Linked DNA regions of Homo sapiens: all the other regions are linked to region 2. Evidence: promoter capture Hi-C in 16 types of primary human blood cells and fetal thymus (Javierre and others, 2016). All regions are on one chromosome and are shown on one strand. The core of a region is centred on a gene start or on the middle of the fragment in contact, and the rest is flanking DNA. Distances in the headings are between cores, read along the strand shown.

Evidence for each region. Contacts are between HindIII fragments. The CHiCAGO score rates a contact against its expected background, and 5 or more counts as called.
Region 1: a contact is called between the fragment with the promoter of OR52E8 here and the fragment with the promoter of OR51V1 in region 2, in 4 of 17 cell types (naive CD8 T cells, activated CD4 T cells, neutrophils and 1 more). The highest score is 7.2, in naive CD8 T cells.
Region 3: a contact is called between a fragment that was not itself captured here and the fragment with the promoter of OR51V1 in region 2, in 3 of 17 cell types (naive B cells, monocytes and neutrophils). The highest score is 7.4, in naive B cells.

What each region holds. Positions count from the first base shown.
Region 1 is chr11:5,854,300-5,859,126 of GRCh38, forward strand. It overlaps OR52E8 (olfactory receptor family 52 subfamily E member 8), which reads right to left and starts at 3,391. Exons shown (of 1, transcript NM_001005168.3): 1 at 2,450-3,391. The coding sequence starts at 3,391. The coding sequence ends at 2,450. The HindIII fragment of the contact is 1,911 bases long and covers 2,348-4,258 here.
Region 2 is chr11:5,197,696-5,202,261 of GRCh38, forward strand. OR51V1 (olfactory receptor family 51 subfamily V member 1) reads right to left here and starts at 2,987. Exons shown (of 1, transcript NM_001004760.3): 1 at 2,040-2,987. The coding sequence starts at 2,987. The coding sequence ends at 2,040. The HindIII fragment of the contact is 3,813 bases long and covers 50-3,862 here.
Region 3 is chr11:5,910,697-5,915,092 of GRCh38, forward strand. The region is part of intron 2 of LOC112268071 (a long non-coding RNA gene); the gene reads right to left. Among named protein-coding and RNA genes, the nearest start is that of OR52E5, 20 kb to the left of the region's middle. The HindIII fragment of the contact is 1,523 bases long and covers 725-2,247 here.

The DNA.
Region 1 (4,827 bases), core at 2,141-4,640, 660 kb after region 2:
CAGGCACTGTGGAAAGATTTCCCAAGGAGCTCCTGGTTTTTGAACATTCATTTTCTATCCTGAAACCTTACTGAATTTATTTATCAAATCTAAGAGTATTTTGGAGGAGTCATTAAAATTTTCTAAACATAACATTATATTATTAGCAAACAGAGAATTTGACTTCCTCTTTTCCAATTTTGATGCCTTTTATTTCTTTCTCTTGCCTGTTTGCTCTGAATAGTGCTTTCAGTAGTGTGTTGAAAGGAAGACTAAAAGTGGGCATCTTGTCTTGTTCTGGTTTGTAGGGAGAATGTTTTCAACTTTTACCCATTCAATATGATATTGGCTGAGTTTGTTATATATGGATCTTACTATTTGGAGAAAGGTTCCTGCAATGCCTATTTTGTTGAAAGTTTTTATCTTGAAGGGACGCTGAATTTTATGTAATATTCTCTACATCTATTGAGATGATCATGTTTTTTGTTTTTAATTCTCCTTATATGGTGAATCACATTTATTGATTTGTGTATCTTGAGCCATCCTTGCGTCCCTGGAATAAAATCTAGAAAAAGTCTTGCCTATCACTATTTAGAAAGTGCTGGTTCAATCAATACATTCAAACTGATATATCCAATTATTCAATCCATACTGGTAAATTAAATTGCCTTCTATCATTTCCTTTCTATGAACATATAAACACAAACACATACACATTTTTAAATGATTAAAACTATTTATCCAGACACAGGAAGACAAAGCAAACCCAGGAAAGATACAGAAACAACAGAAAAATGAATATATATTTTGTTTATCTGGGAGATTTCTCTGAAAGTGATTGTAAAAGAATACGTATCTACCATTTCACTCTTATAATCCTTTTAAATTTCATCCAGAATATCTCACTTTCTCTCTACCCATATTCCTTGGTGCTGCTTCTCTCCTCCCTAGTTGCTCCTACTCCCTCAGTCCTGAGCCCTACCTAAATTTTTCCGGCCCTACCTTGTCTACTGAGATGTCTTTAGAATACACTCAACTGTCTTGCCATGGCCAGAGAATCTTCTCCAAGAAAGAAACCATCAAGTACTTCCACAGCCTTCCATCCTACATTCTACCAGTAAACACCTGCCCAGTTGCAGGGCTGTGACCCTGAGGAGGAAAGATTTATACGACAAGTAGAACCTCGCCTGAAGCCAAGAGAGGGAGATCCTCCATGTCATCACTCTCTGGAATCTCCCATAAGAAAATGGTAGACTCTGGTCCTAAACCCTTAATTTCCACAGAGCGCATTCTGCTCCTATCTGTTCACCCAGTGATTGACCTAAGGGCTGCTTTCTATAGGAGATCATTGAATCACAGCTAAATTTAAGTGTCTTTGCTTTATAGTCTGCACATGCCACTTGTTGTGGTCTACTGCCTAATCCTATATCTTAACTGTATAAATGGCAGGCAGAGCAGCAATAAAGAACTTACATTCAAGGTGTTCTTCCTGCAATTATCTTCCTCCAAGTTTTTTAAGGGATTATAAATTTCATTATGAATGAAACTGCTAATAGCCACACAATTTCCAAATCTCCTGAAGAAAAAAAAAATATGTCTCAACACTACTTTAGAAACAACTTATTATTTCTTTTTTCTCAAAGTATATAAGTACTTAAAGACAATACACTGTGTCTTCGAATGTTCCTACAGCTCATAAACCCACACATGAAACATAGTAGAAGTATGCACACGCACACGCACATATATTCATATATGTAAAAATATATTATGTAAATATTATTTAAATAATTAAACAAGCAAATGAATGAAATATTTACGAATGTATATGTCATGCTCATGCTGCATTATTTCCTTTTTCCTTTAATATCTAATTTTATGACTATGCTTGCATCTCTAGGTGCATGAGGGAAATTATAGTAACTATTGAATAAGATTATGGTGGGCATGATATGAGTATATTCATGTGTGGTATACCTGTCAATACCCATATATCTACACTGCATCTATGGTATGTTAATATTATTACTAGAGTAAGCTATTATTATTATTTTAAGAATTCTAGAAGCCACTTATTCTGTTTATTATCTTTTTAAAGTAAGAATTTTATTCCGTATTCTGTTATTTCTTAAACATACTAAAGAAAACTATAAGGCAGTCTATTTGGCTTAAATTACTACTTCCTATTAAACATGTAGTTTGAGTAAATCACTCAACTTTTCCGAACATAAGTATATTAATCACAAGAATGGAAAAACTAATACATACTTTATAAAACTGCCTTGAGGATCCAGCAATAGAAATAAAAGAACTTGGAAAAGGAGAGTTCGACAAGGGTAAAATTCTCATTATTATAATTAAAGTCAAAAGCTTCAGTTAACAGATAAATAATGTTATTGGCTGCAGCATTCCCTTCTGTTTTTCTGCTTTCTATTAGGTTAGAGTGACAGACTCTCCAACCTCCAACTGGTTAGTGATTGGTCTTGAGAAAAATCCTCAGCACTCTCTCTCGAATCTGCTTTGTCCTGACTCCATAGATTACAGGATTGAGGGCTGGTGGGACAACCACATACAGGTTGGCTAATATAATATGTATATACTGTGGGATATTATGGCCAAAACGATGTGTCAAGAATGAAAAAAATGCTGGTGTAAAAAAGGCTAAGATAACACCAATATGAGAACCACAGGTGTTGAGAGCTTTGAGTCGAGCTTCCCAGGAGGGCAGGCAGAAGACAGCATACAGGATCCTGACATAGGAGAGAATAATAAGGATAACATCCAGTAACAAGAGAGATATGTTGCCAAGGCCAAACCTAATGTTGACTTTGATGCTGGCACAGGCCAGACGGGCAATGCCCATGTGCTCACAATAAGTATGAGGGATGATACGATGCCCACAGAAGGGCAGCCTCAGAAGGAGAAACACCAGTGGAACAACCATGTACAGGCTCCTCAGGACAGCAATGCCTGCAATGAGGCTGATGATTTTGCTGGTGAGGATCATGGTGTACCGAAGAGGTTTGCAAATGGCAATGTAGCGGTCAAAGGCCATGGCCACCAACACAATGCTCTCCATAGCAGTGAAGAAATGGATGAAGAACATGTGAGAAAGGCAGCCTCCAAAAGATATTTCTTTGGTATTGAACCAGAAGATGCCCAACATTTTGGGGATGGTGGCTGTAGACAAGCCCAGGTCAATGGAATCCAACATGGCCAGGAAGTAGTACATAGGCTCATGGAGACTCTGCTCAGTCTGGATCACAAACAAGAGAGCAGTGTTTCCCAGGAGTGCAACAAGATACACAAAGAAAAAAGGGACTCCAATCCAAATGTGCACATCTTCTAGCCCTGGGATACCCAGCAGTAGGAATGAAGAAGGATGGAACTGGGTGTGATTAGACGTAGACATTCTTCCTGCCATATAAAGCTGCTGGGCACACCAGCGACGATTATAATATTCCTATTAGTAATTCTTGTTCCACTTCTTCTTTTGTTCAGATTTCTAGTCAAATTCACAATAACATATTAATCTTTCTTTATATATATTCATGAGTAAGGTAAAATACTCTCCACAATTTCTCCTAGCCTCTCCTGAGCAACATTGGTACCAGGAATAGAACCAGTCTTATTCTACTGCCCCTTCACCTAATATCAAAGACTAATATAAAAAGAAATGGCAGAAGAATGTCATCTGCCAAATAAAAATGCAAAATCTGGAATTTAGCCAGAACTAAATGAGAAAAATAAAGTTCCAGGGTCAGTGTCTATAGAAATGTTACACATATTTTTGCTTCACGATCAAGGTATTTGTAATCTCAACTATTCCTCTATTTGGGAATCAAAAATGTAGTGTGTAAAACCGTTTCTGTGTTGTTATGCATTTTTACAGGTATTTGTGACTACTAGACTGTATACTTCTATATACAATTTAGACTATACTGTATACAATTTGGGACTACTAGACTGTATACTTCTGTATACAATTTAGGCTGTATATACTGTATACAGTTTGTGACTACTAGACTGTATACTTCTGTATACAATTTAGACTGTGTATACTGTATACAATTTGTGACTACTAGACTGTATACTTCTGAGAGAAGAAACAATTTATCTTGCTCATATGCAGGAAAAAGATCTGCTACATAATAGTTCTCAATTTAAAACCTCCACAAATAGACATTGATTACAAGGAGGCAAAACTGTGGGTAATTTTAATGTCATATTTTAGGAAATAAATAATTTAGTTTCCATCACACCTGTGTTTGAGAAAAGAAGCTTATCCATCGGATTTGGAAAATGGGTAAAAACAAGGAAAAGAAAATACTTGACAAAGAGTATTTTGCAGCTATGATGGAACATGGATGAAGAGATAATTTTAATCTAGATAATCCTATTATTTGGAGAGTGCATAAATACACGCATTCAGTAAAGAAACTGTTTATATATAGGCCAGCTTTTTCTGTGGCAAGGAAACTAAATATTCTGGGCTACAAAATTTTCAAATATATCTCAGTCTTATATTCATGGGAAGAAAGTAGAAGCCCTTTGGATGACCTACAGTTTAGCTGCTACTCAAATTCTATCCCAGCTGTTTTGTCTCTATGGATGTCTCCAATATAGTAAATCCTGAATTTACAGATAGTAAATCCTGAATTTACGGATAGTAAATCCTGAATTTACAGATAGTAAATTCAAAATTTGAAGCAAAAAGTTCATTACTGCGCAACTTACTTTTACTTGGGAAAAACTAGTTTTACAGATAATGCGGAATTGGTTAAATGTGACGTGGCAACTACACAAAAAGCATTGATTACAATTTAAGAATACTTGAACATTGGGGGA
Region 2 (4,566 bases), core at 1,737-4,236:
CGGCGTATGGGAGGGTGGATGCTTATTCACTTTCAAAGCATTAGAAGGAAGCTTCTTTGGCCATTGAGAAATCTATGAGACATTCACATGACCTCTACAGATTCAGCAGCTAACTTCTCTTTTCATTATAAAACTGGGGCATAGGAATCTTGTCAGATTGGCCACATTCCAGTCGGCCAGGAGGGACCATGCAGACATTTATTATCATTAGGGAACCTGGAGCAGTACTACCACCTGACATTCATATCAACTTTTCTTTTTTTTTCTCTTTTTTTTTTTTTTTTTGAGACAGAGTCTCTCTCTGTCGCCCAGGCTGGAGTGCAGTGGCGTGATCTCGACTCACTGCAAGCTCCACCTCCCGGGTTCACGCCATTCTCCTGTCTCAGCCTCCCGAGTACCTGGGACTACAGGTGCCCGCCACCACGCCTGGATACTTTCTTGTGTTTTTTTAGTAGAGACGGGGTTTCACCATTGCTGGCCAGGATGGTCTCGATCTCCTGACCTCATGATCCGCCCGCCTCGGCAGCTACTATGATTATATAGTAAAAAATATATATATTGACATTTTCCCCTCTAGAACCTACCTCACAGTTTTCACTTCTGATAGCTATACCAGAAGATGCACTAGATCCTCTTTGACATCAGGAAATTCACTCCTTTATCCTTCAAATTAACCTTATACTGTAACCCAGAAGACCTAATTTATTGTTCTAGGAATAATTTTACACTTATCTTTCTAACCAGATACTTTACTCTGTCCAGAAACAATTTCCTCACTTTGAGGCTTAAGCTATTAGAAACCAAAGCCTGTATTTTTGTTTCCCTCTGAGTCAAATAAGTAGACAGAGGCTATGTTATTGAATGAAGTCCAAAGTGAAAGGAAAGGAAGGCATAATTACAGGAAGACAAATCTGGTTGTTTTAGTTGATATCTAAAAATAAAAATAAATATTTGCTTTTTGGTGTAAAATGACTCTTATGCATTAATTTGTCCAATTTTAACACTTACCTTCTTAGATACCTAATAGAATATAGGAAGATTAAAACAATTATTTTCTTGTTATCCATGCATAGTTTTGTACCTGATTTCCTTCCTTTCTTTCCTTCTTTGGAAAGCTGCACTAGCTTACTTAGAAAAGAACCGCTTTATGTTCTTTTATCTTTTTTCTTTTAAACTCAGAATAAGTCGGTAGCGGACAGTCTCATCTGTTCAGAAGATCCCCCACTTAGATATAAAAGCAAAAGATCTAGAGCAAAATCTGCTTCCAGCCTTGTAGCAGTGGAGTCCACATATAAAATCTAAAAAATAAGGATTCTAATTTAAATTAGACATGGTAGAAGTTGAATCCAAAGTCATATTTCTTTGTGTCCTCTTTATGAACTGTAGCTTCCCTGTCCAATATAGTGGCTGCTGAACTGAACTGTCCAATACAAGGACATTAAACATTTAAATATAAATTAACTTAAAGTAACTGAAATTGTAAATGCAGTTGTTCAATTACACTACCATCATTTCAAGCGCACAGGAGCCATATATTCCACTTTAGCCATTTTATGGTATTTTATAGAACATCGCCATCAGTTTAGAAAAGTTCCCTTGGACAATTCTGGTCCATACAGATATCACAACATTCCTGTGAGTTGGCTATAGTCTCCATTTTGAAGGTTAATTAAGTAAACCTCAGAGAATGAAAGAAACTTCAAGTTTTCTACTTTGAAACTTGAAAACCTAGGTTTTTAATCCAGCTTTGTTTTACAGCAAAGGAAATGCTCAAAAGTACATTTCAGGCAAATAAACAATTTTTTCCTCTTTCTTAAATATGGTCAGACTGATAGAGTGACCTACATGTGTCCAGGCTGACACAATGGAACTTGTTTGTTGATTCTCTGACTATATTTAAATATTTTTTAAGGTCATTTGTCATGGACTCAGAGTAAATCTACAATTTTAATAATTTTTTCTTTTTTATGGCACTGATTTTTGTTTATTATTGTTGCTGCTTTTCTTTCTTTTTTTTAGGCAATACATCTCAATATCTCTCAATATCTTTTCAGAGAAAAGAGTCTAAGCATTCTGGTATGAATCTGTTGGGTCTTGACACTGTAGATGATGGGATTCATTAAAGGTGGGAAAAGGATGTAGATGTTGCCAATGAGAACGTGGGCCACGGGGGAAAGGTGCTTGCCAAAACGGTGCACCATTGTGAGGCTAATGATAGGGATGTAGAACACAAGGACAGCACAGATGTGGGAGATGCAGGTCTGAAATAATTTATGCCTCTCTTCCTGAGAGGCAACTGCCAGGACTGACTTAAGAATCAGGATGTAGGAGAAAAGGATGAGTATAGCATCCAACAACAGTATGCAAATAACCAGCATCAGGGCATAGTAACTATTGAATCGGATGTCTGAACAGGCTAAGCGGAGAAGATCCTGGTGCAGGCAGAAAGAGTGAGAAAGGATGTGGAAATGACAGTAATTAAAAAATTTCAGACAGATGATGGGGGGTGTAATAAAGAAAAAACTCCTACCTATTATAGTGAGCCCAATTTTGATAATTCTGGAATTAGTCAGGATGGAGGAATAACGTAGTGGATTGCAAATTGCAATGTACCGGTCAAAGGCCATAGTGAGGAGGACAGAGGACTCCATGAAGGACAGACCATGGATGAAATAGGACTGGGCAATGCAGGAATCCAAGCTGATCTCTCGAATGATCCCCCACAGGATCCCCAGCACTGTGTACACAGTGGACAGCCCCATGCACAGGTCAGTGAGGGCCAGCATGGACAGGAAGTAAAACATAGGCTGGTGCAGGCTTGGCTCAGTCCATATCACATGGAGAACCATGCAATTGCCCAAAAGCACCATGGCATAGATTGAGGAGAAGGGGATGGAAAGCCAGGGGTATTGCTGCTCCATGCCAGAAAATCCAGTGAGAAGAAAGGAAGAATTCGTGCTGGTGCTAGGGCTTACTGAAGTAATCATTCTGGAACTGAGAAACATGTGAGAGTATTTTTTCAAAGGAAATGTTTCAATTTCACCTGAATACAATGAAATTTCTAAGTAAATGAAATACCCTAAAACTTACTGACTTAAAAAAAACAGCTGAGAAATTCTGTTTCTTTGAGACATAGTATCCATTGCCTTTGAGAAAATGGTCTTCTTTTGATGTCATTTAAAAGTCATTATTTTTTCACTGTCTGGATGTGAACATATCCTTAGAAGCCATAAGCAAAAACAAATAAGGAAGAGATTAGTAAAAGGAGAAGGCTAGTTTTAAAAAAATACGTTGCTTAGACATTTTCCCAAGGATAGTGGTAAAAATTTTATACCAGTAAAGAGCCGAGGTTCTTGAAAAATTATTTTCTTCTCTCCAATTCATTAAACATTCGAAGTGAAGAGTAATCTTTGGGCTTTAAATATCATAAGTCTATTAAATAGTCACTTTTCCGTCATTTTCCATTTTGTGCCGTCTCCAAGTATATTTTTTCTCCAAATACTATTTAATGAAGATACTCCTGTTTTCTCCCCCTCCAGATGACGTAGCCAGCAATTACTTTTTCTTCATTGGTGATAAGCAGACAGGAATATTTATGCATGAGACCTTGGGTAAATGATTTCTCACTGGAGCTCTGGCCTCTTGAGATGTTCAACTCATTTGTGCCTTTGTGATGTAGAGAATTAGATTGAAGACACTGAGCCTTTGATAGCAGCTCAGTGCTTCCCATTCCTTTATTTATTCAGTTAATGAGCTGATTAACTATTTATTCAATATACATTTATTCAATGTATTGGCCAATTGTGTTTTCTTTCTTAGAACCTGCAGTTCTACAGATCACAAAGCCAGGCTCAAACAAGCAAGCTTATAATTTCAAAAGCCTCATGGTAGCAGAATCAATTGGCTTCTTCTTTACATTGTTTGCCTGCTTTAAGTTCCAGACCTGAGAATCATCATAAGTTTTTTTAAAGCTCTAATAATGTAAACAGATGTTCAAAAGTCCATACTTTCATGTTTGATTGAGTAACTTCGAGATGTTAAAGTAACTTCAGATTTGGGCTGCCCTTTATGTCCTACTTTTCAGCTTTGTCTTATTAGCCTCACAACACAGTTCCACAGACTTTCTTCTCAATGTACTCTCTATACTACACTGACGTCTTCTAGCAGTCTAACCATTGTTTTTCTTGCCCTGACTCCTTCTCAGCATTGAATAACTTAGCTCACTATTTTTAATACTTTTTTCTCCATAGAATGCTTGAAGTTTCTTCGTTTCTTGCAGAGGATTTTTCAGTCTTTTGAATACGTATCTTCTTTCATTTCTCTAAATCGAATTTCTCTTCTTTCGTAAAATTTTTCTCGAAATGTTCTATCTGCCTAAATTATTCATCATCTTTTCCTCAATTTCTTCCTACCCTTTTTAAAACGATCTTGCAACTCAACAATCACTTTTCAAGAAGTTTCTTAAGACAAATTTATCCATATATCTATTATTTTGGTATCATGTTTCAATTTTAAATAAAACTTATAATTTTGTATTTATTAGCTAAATATTTAACTAATATTTAA
Region 3 (4,396 bases), core at 236-2,735, 710 kb after region 2:
CTCTGCTGAGTCATACAGGTCACCAGAGAAGTGGGACAAAGACAGCAGTCACAGGCCTCACCCCATTCCCATGTAGCCACAGTCCTAAATGCTGGTCTCACTTCCATCATGCCCCACCTACCACACCAAGTGTTTCCAGGCAGCTGGTGACCAGTTCTGAGAACTTGCCCCAGACCGTCAGCCACCCCACTGAGAAAGCAAGCTGATTCAGAGTTTTTTGGCATCTCAAGGAGCCTGCAGAAGCAATCCAGTTCCTTCAAAGGGTCTGTGGATTATCTCAGCTTACCTGGCATGTTCCTGCAGTAATTCTTGGAGAAAAGTTAATGATGTGAGTCTCTACATGCTGCCCTGTCTCTGACTAGCCTCCTATTTGCCATCTTAATCTCAGTCTTGATTCTGTGTTTGTATTTTTATCTTTCTTGACTGAATAGTGTATAAAGAAATGTATCACACTATGATTTTTTTTCAAAGTAGCACATTTTTGGTTTTGTTTTTTTTCCTTTTTCTGTTCATTTTCTATCTTATTGAGTTCGGCTCATTTCTATTATTTTCTTCCTTCTATTTTTTGAATATGCTTTTCCCATCTTTTTCTAGATTTGTAAGGCAGAAGCTTATAGAATTGATTTCAGACTCTCATTTTTTTCCTAATAAAAATAATTAATATGCTTAATGCTCCATTCACAGCAATCTGGGCTTTTTCTACCTTGCTTCTCCAAATTCTTCAAGCTTCTATCTATTACCCAGTTCAAAAACCACTTCCATATTTTCAGGTATTTGTTGTAGCAACAACTCTACTCCCAATATCAATCTTCCTGGTACTGTTTTGTGCTACTATAACAGGATATCAGAGACTGGGTAATTTATAAACTATAGAACTTTATTTGGCTCACAGCTCTGGAGGCTAGAAAGTCCAAGGTCAAGTGACCTGCTTCTGGTGAAGGCCTTGTCACTGGGTCATCTCATGGCAGAAGGCAGAAGGGCAAGAGTGTATGTGCATGAGAAAGAGAGAAGAGAGAGAATTAGAAATGGAGAGTTGAATCTGCTTTTATAACAAACCCACTCCCACGATAGCAGCACTAATTCATTCATGAGGGCAGGGCCCATGTGACATAATCGCCTCTTAAAGGTCCTACCTCCCAATACTGTTGCATTGGGGTTTAAGTTTCCAACACATGAATCTTGAGGGACATTCAAACCATAGCAGCCATATTATACTGCCATCATTCTACTTTAAGTTATTGTGCCCTTCTTTATACAATTAATTCCCCAAAAGCAGAGATGAATAACATTTGATCTTTTCTCACAAGACCAAACAGTGATTGTCACTTAATCTGACTGAGCAGATTATTCTGTTATGTAAAACTTTTTAAAACTAGTTTGATGCACTAATACTTTCCACAAACCTTCTTACATGATTTCCCACATATTTAAATGACTTGTTTATGAAATTTTTCCTCTTTGGTCAGTTGCTTGACGATCTGATCAGTGCCTTGTTATTGCTTAGCAACGACTGTTGTATTGAGGTTTCCAAGTTTCTCCAGAACTGTTTTGCCAGGTCCCAAGCTGGCAGAACTGAATGCCTTTAGCGTCCTATTTCTCCTGACTATGCGGCCAATGTCATCCTCCATTATTTTGTTTCCAAATAAGCAGCCAGATCCTTAGTAGCTCATTGACTTTCAGAATTCATTGAGAACAGAAAGACAAGGTATCTTCTGGTATTTTGAGAAAATATATGTCCTTTGAAAAGTTAGCTTTAGGAGATACACCTAATGCTAAATGACGAGTTAATGGGTGCAGCACACCAGCATGGCACATGTATACATATGTAACTAACCTGCACATTGTGCACATGTACCCTAAAACTTAAAGTATAATAATAATAAAATAAAATAAAAAATAAAAAAAGAGAAAAGTTAATGCTAAACAGAGAATAGAAGTAAGAAAATGCAGTGTCTTTGAATTGGAAAAAGAAAGATTGTACTTCCTCTCCACCAACAAAAAGACAGAAGAAAGAGGAGAACAAATGAATTTTCTGACTTGAAGTTATAATCCTACGAGGGAAAAAATGCTGCTCAGTAACTGCAGGAGTTCTTGACCACTGGAACCTCCCAGGTGTCAGCTTTTTCACAAAATATTGGAATATTTGAATAAATCTGGGATTATCTAAGGGAGGGCAGTTGGGAAGACCAGTTGGGTCAGAGAAGCAATCATAACACATATTTAATATACCTTTATACTGATGGATGAAGCTTCAAATTGACAGTTGAGCAGATTGTCATTAAATAACGAAAAGTACCTAAGTTTTTATCCAAAGCTTAATTGTTCCTCTCTTTGCTCCTAAAACTCAACATGCTTTCTCTCTTAGTACAGAACCTCTGCATGTGTGTAGTTTTCACTGCCTAAAATAATCTTTTCATCCTTCTTTGCTTAGGTGATTCCTATTTTTCTTTCTTGTTCAACCTACTTAGGTTTACTTAAAATGACCTTACCCAACCTTCAATATTATGTTAGGCTGTCAGGCTCCACTGTAACAGGCTTCTACTGTAGCACCCAGAAAGTTTCTTTCTTTGAAATAACTGACCACAACTGTATTGAAGTGAGGCTCAATGCCTACTTTTCCATTATACATTATACTTCCTATTAATGGGGACAGATAATATTTACAAAGTACCATATATCAGGCACTATGATTAGTATTATTCATGTTACATCATTTAATAAATGCAATTAACATGAGATACATGCTAAGTTTATGACTATTTTCCGGAGGAGGAAATAGATGCACAAAGACATAAAAACAACTTGATAAAGGCTTCACACACAGCAAGTAGTGAAACCAAAATTTGAACCCAGGAAGTATAATTCCAGCATCAAGGTGTTAACTACCACTTCACCTTCATTTATGAAAGTACAAAACAATGTAGTTCATCTTTGTAAATAAGAAAAGCTCAATATTTATTACATGAAATATCCACCATACCTCTTTAACTGCTATTTCAATCAGAATTCTTACTTTCAAGCAACAAAAAATAATTCTAGATATTTTAAGCAAAGAAAAATTATTGAAAAGATGATGGATACCTCACAGAATCACTAGGAAAACAGAAAAGTAATAAAATAAAAGAAAATAAAAATACAAACCAAGTAACAACCAGGACCTCTGTAAAATTAATCCAGAGAACTAATTCTGTGCTGAAGTGTTATTGCAACCACTGCTGAACTTCAGATGACATGGTTTATATAAATAGTTCTTTTGTGTTTATTTCAGATGGTTTTCGAACATTGATCAAGTAACTATATATAATAGTGACCACTGTGGAAAATCATTTTGATTTAAAATTTTAGTAGTTAATACATATGATTCAGTTATAATTTTAGAAATTTTTGAGGATTTATGTCTCGAGAAACTTCTCTGAAGTTCAATTTACAGTTAAAAGCATCATAAAAGCGATTTTAAGTGAATGTTTTATAGTGTATTTTAATATAGTAGACATTATAATATGTTTTAACAGAATAAGTAATGAAAATAATGTTTTTCTAACTAACACACTCAATCCTTTTTGTTTGTTTGATAGCCCTCTTTTTACACTAGCATGTACTAGGAAACCATAGGTAGACAGTAAATGCAAACAAGAAAATAATTTTTCTACTAATGTACATACTGATATCAAAAGGACACAAGTCCTAACTTTTTTACATTTATAATATTGTCTTTCACAAGATTGTGGGCATAGCTCAACTAATGTTTACTGATTTATATTAATGATAGCAAAATGTTAGAATACGGTAACTTTTTGAAGATGGCCGAATAGGAACAGCTCCAGTCTACAGCTCCCAGCGTGACCAATGCAGAAGATGGGTGATTTCTGCATTTCCAACTGAGGTACCGGGTTCATCTCATTGGGGAGTGTCAGAAAGTGGGTGCAGGACAGTGGGTGCAGCGCACCGAGCGTGAGCCAAAGCAGGGCAAGGCACTGCCTCACCCAGGAAGCGCAAGGGGTCAGGGAATTCCCTTTCCTAGTCAAAGAAAGGGGTGACAGACAGCACCTGGAAAATCGGGTCACTTCCACCCTAATACTGTGCTTTTCCAATGGTCTTAGCAAATGGCACACCAGGAGATTATATCCCGCGCTTGGCTTGGAGGGTCCTACACCCACGGAGCCTCGCTCATTGCTAGCACAGCTGTCTGAGATCAAACTGCAAGGCGGCAGTGAGGCTGGGGGAGGGGTGCCCGCCACTGCCAAGGCTTGAGTAGGTAAACAAAGTGGCGTGGAAGCTCAAACTGGGTGGAGCCCACCGCAGCTCAAGGAGGCCTGCCTGACTCCACCTCTGAGGGCAGGGCATAGCCAAACAAAAGGAAGGAGAAACCTCTGCAGACTTAAATGTTCCTGTCTGA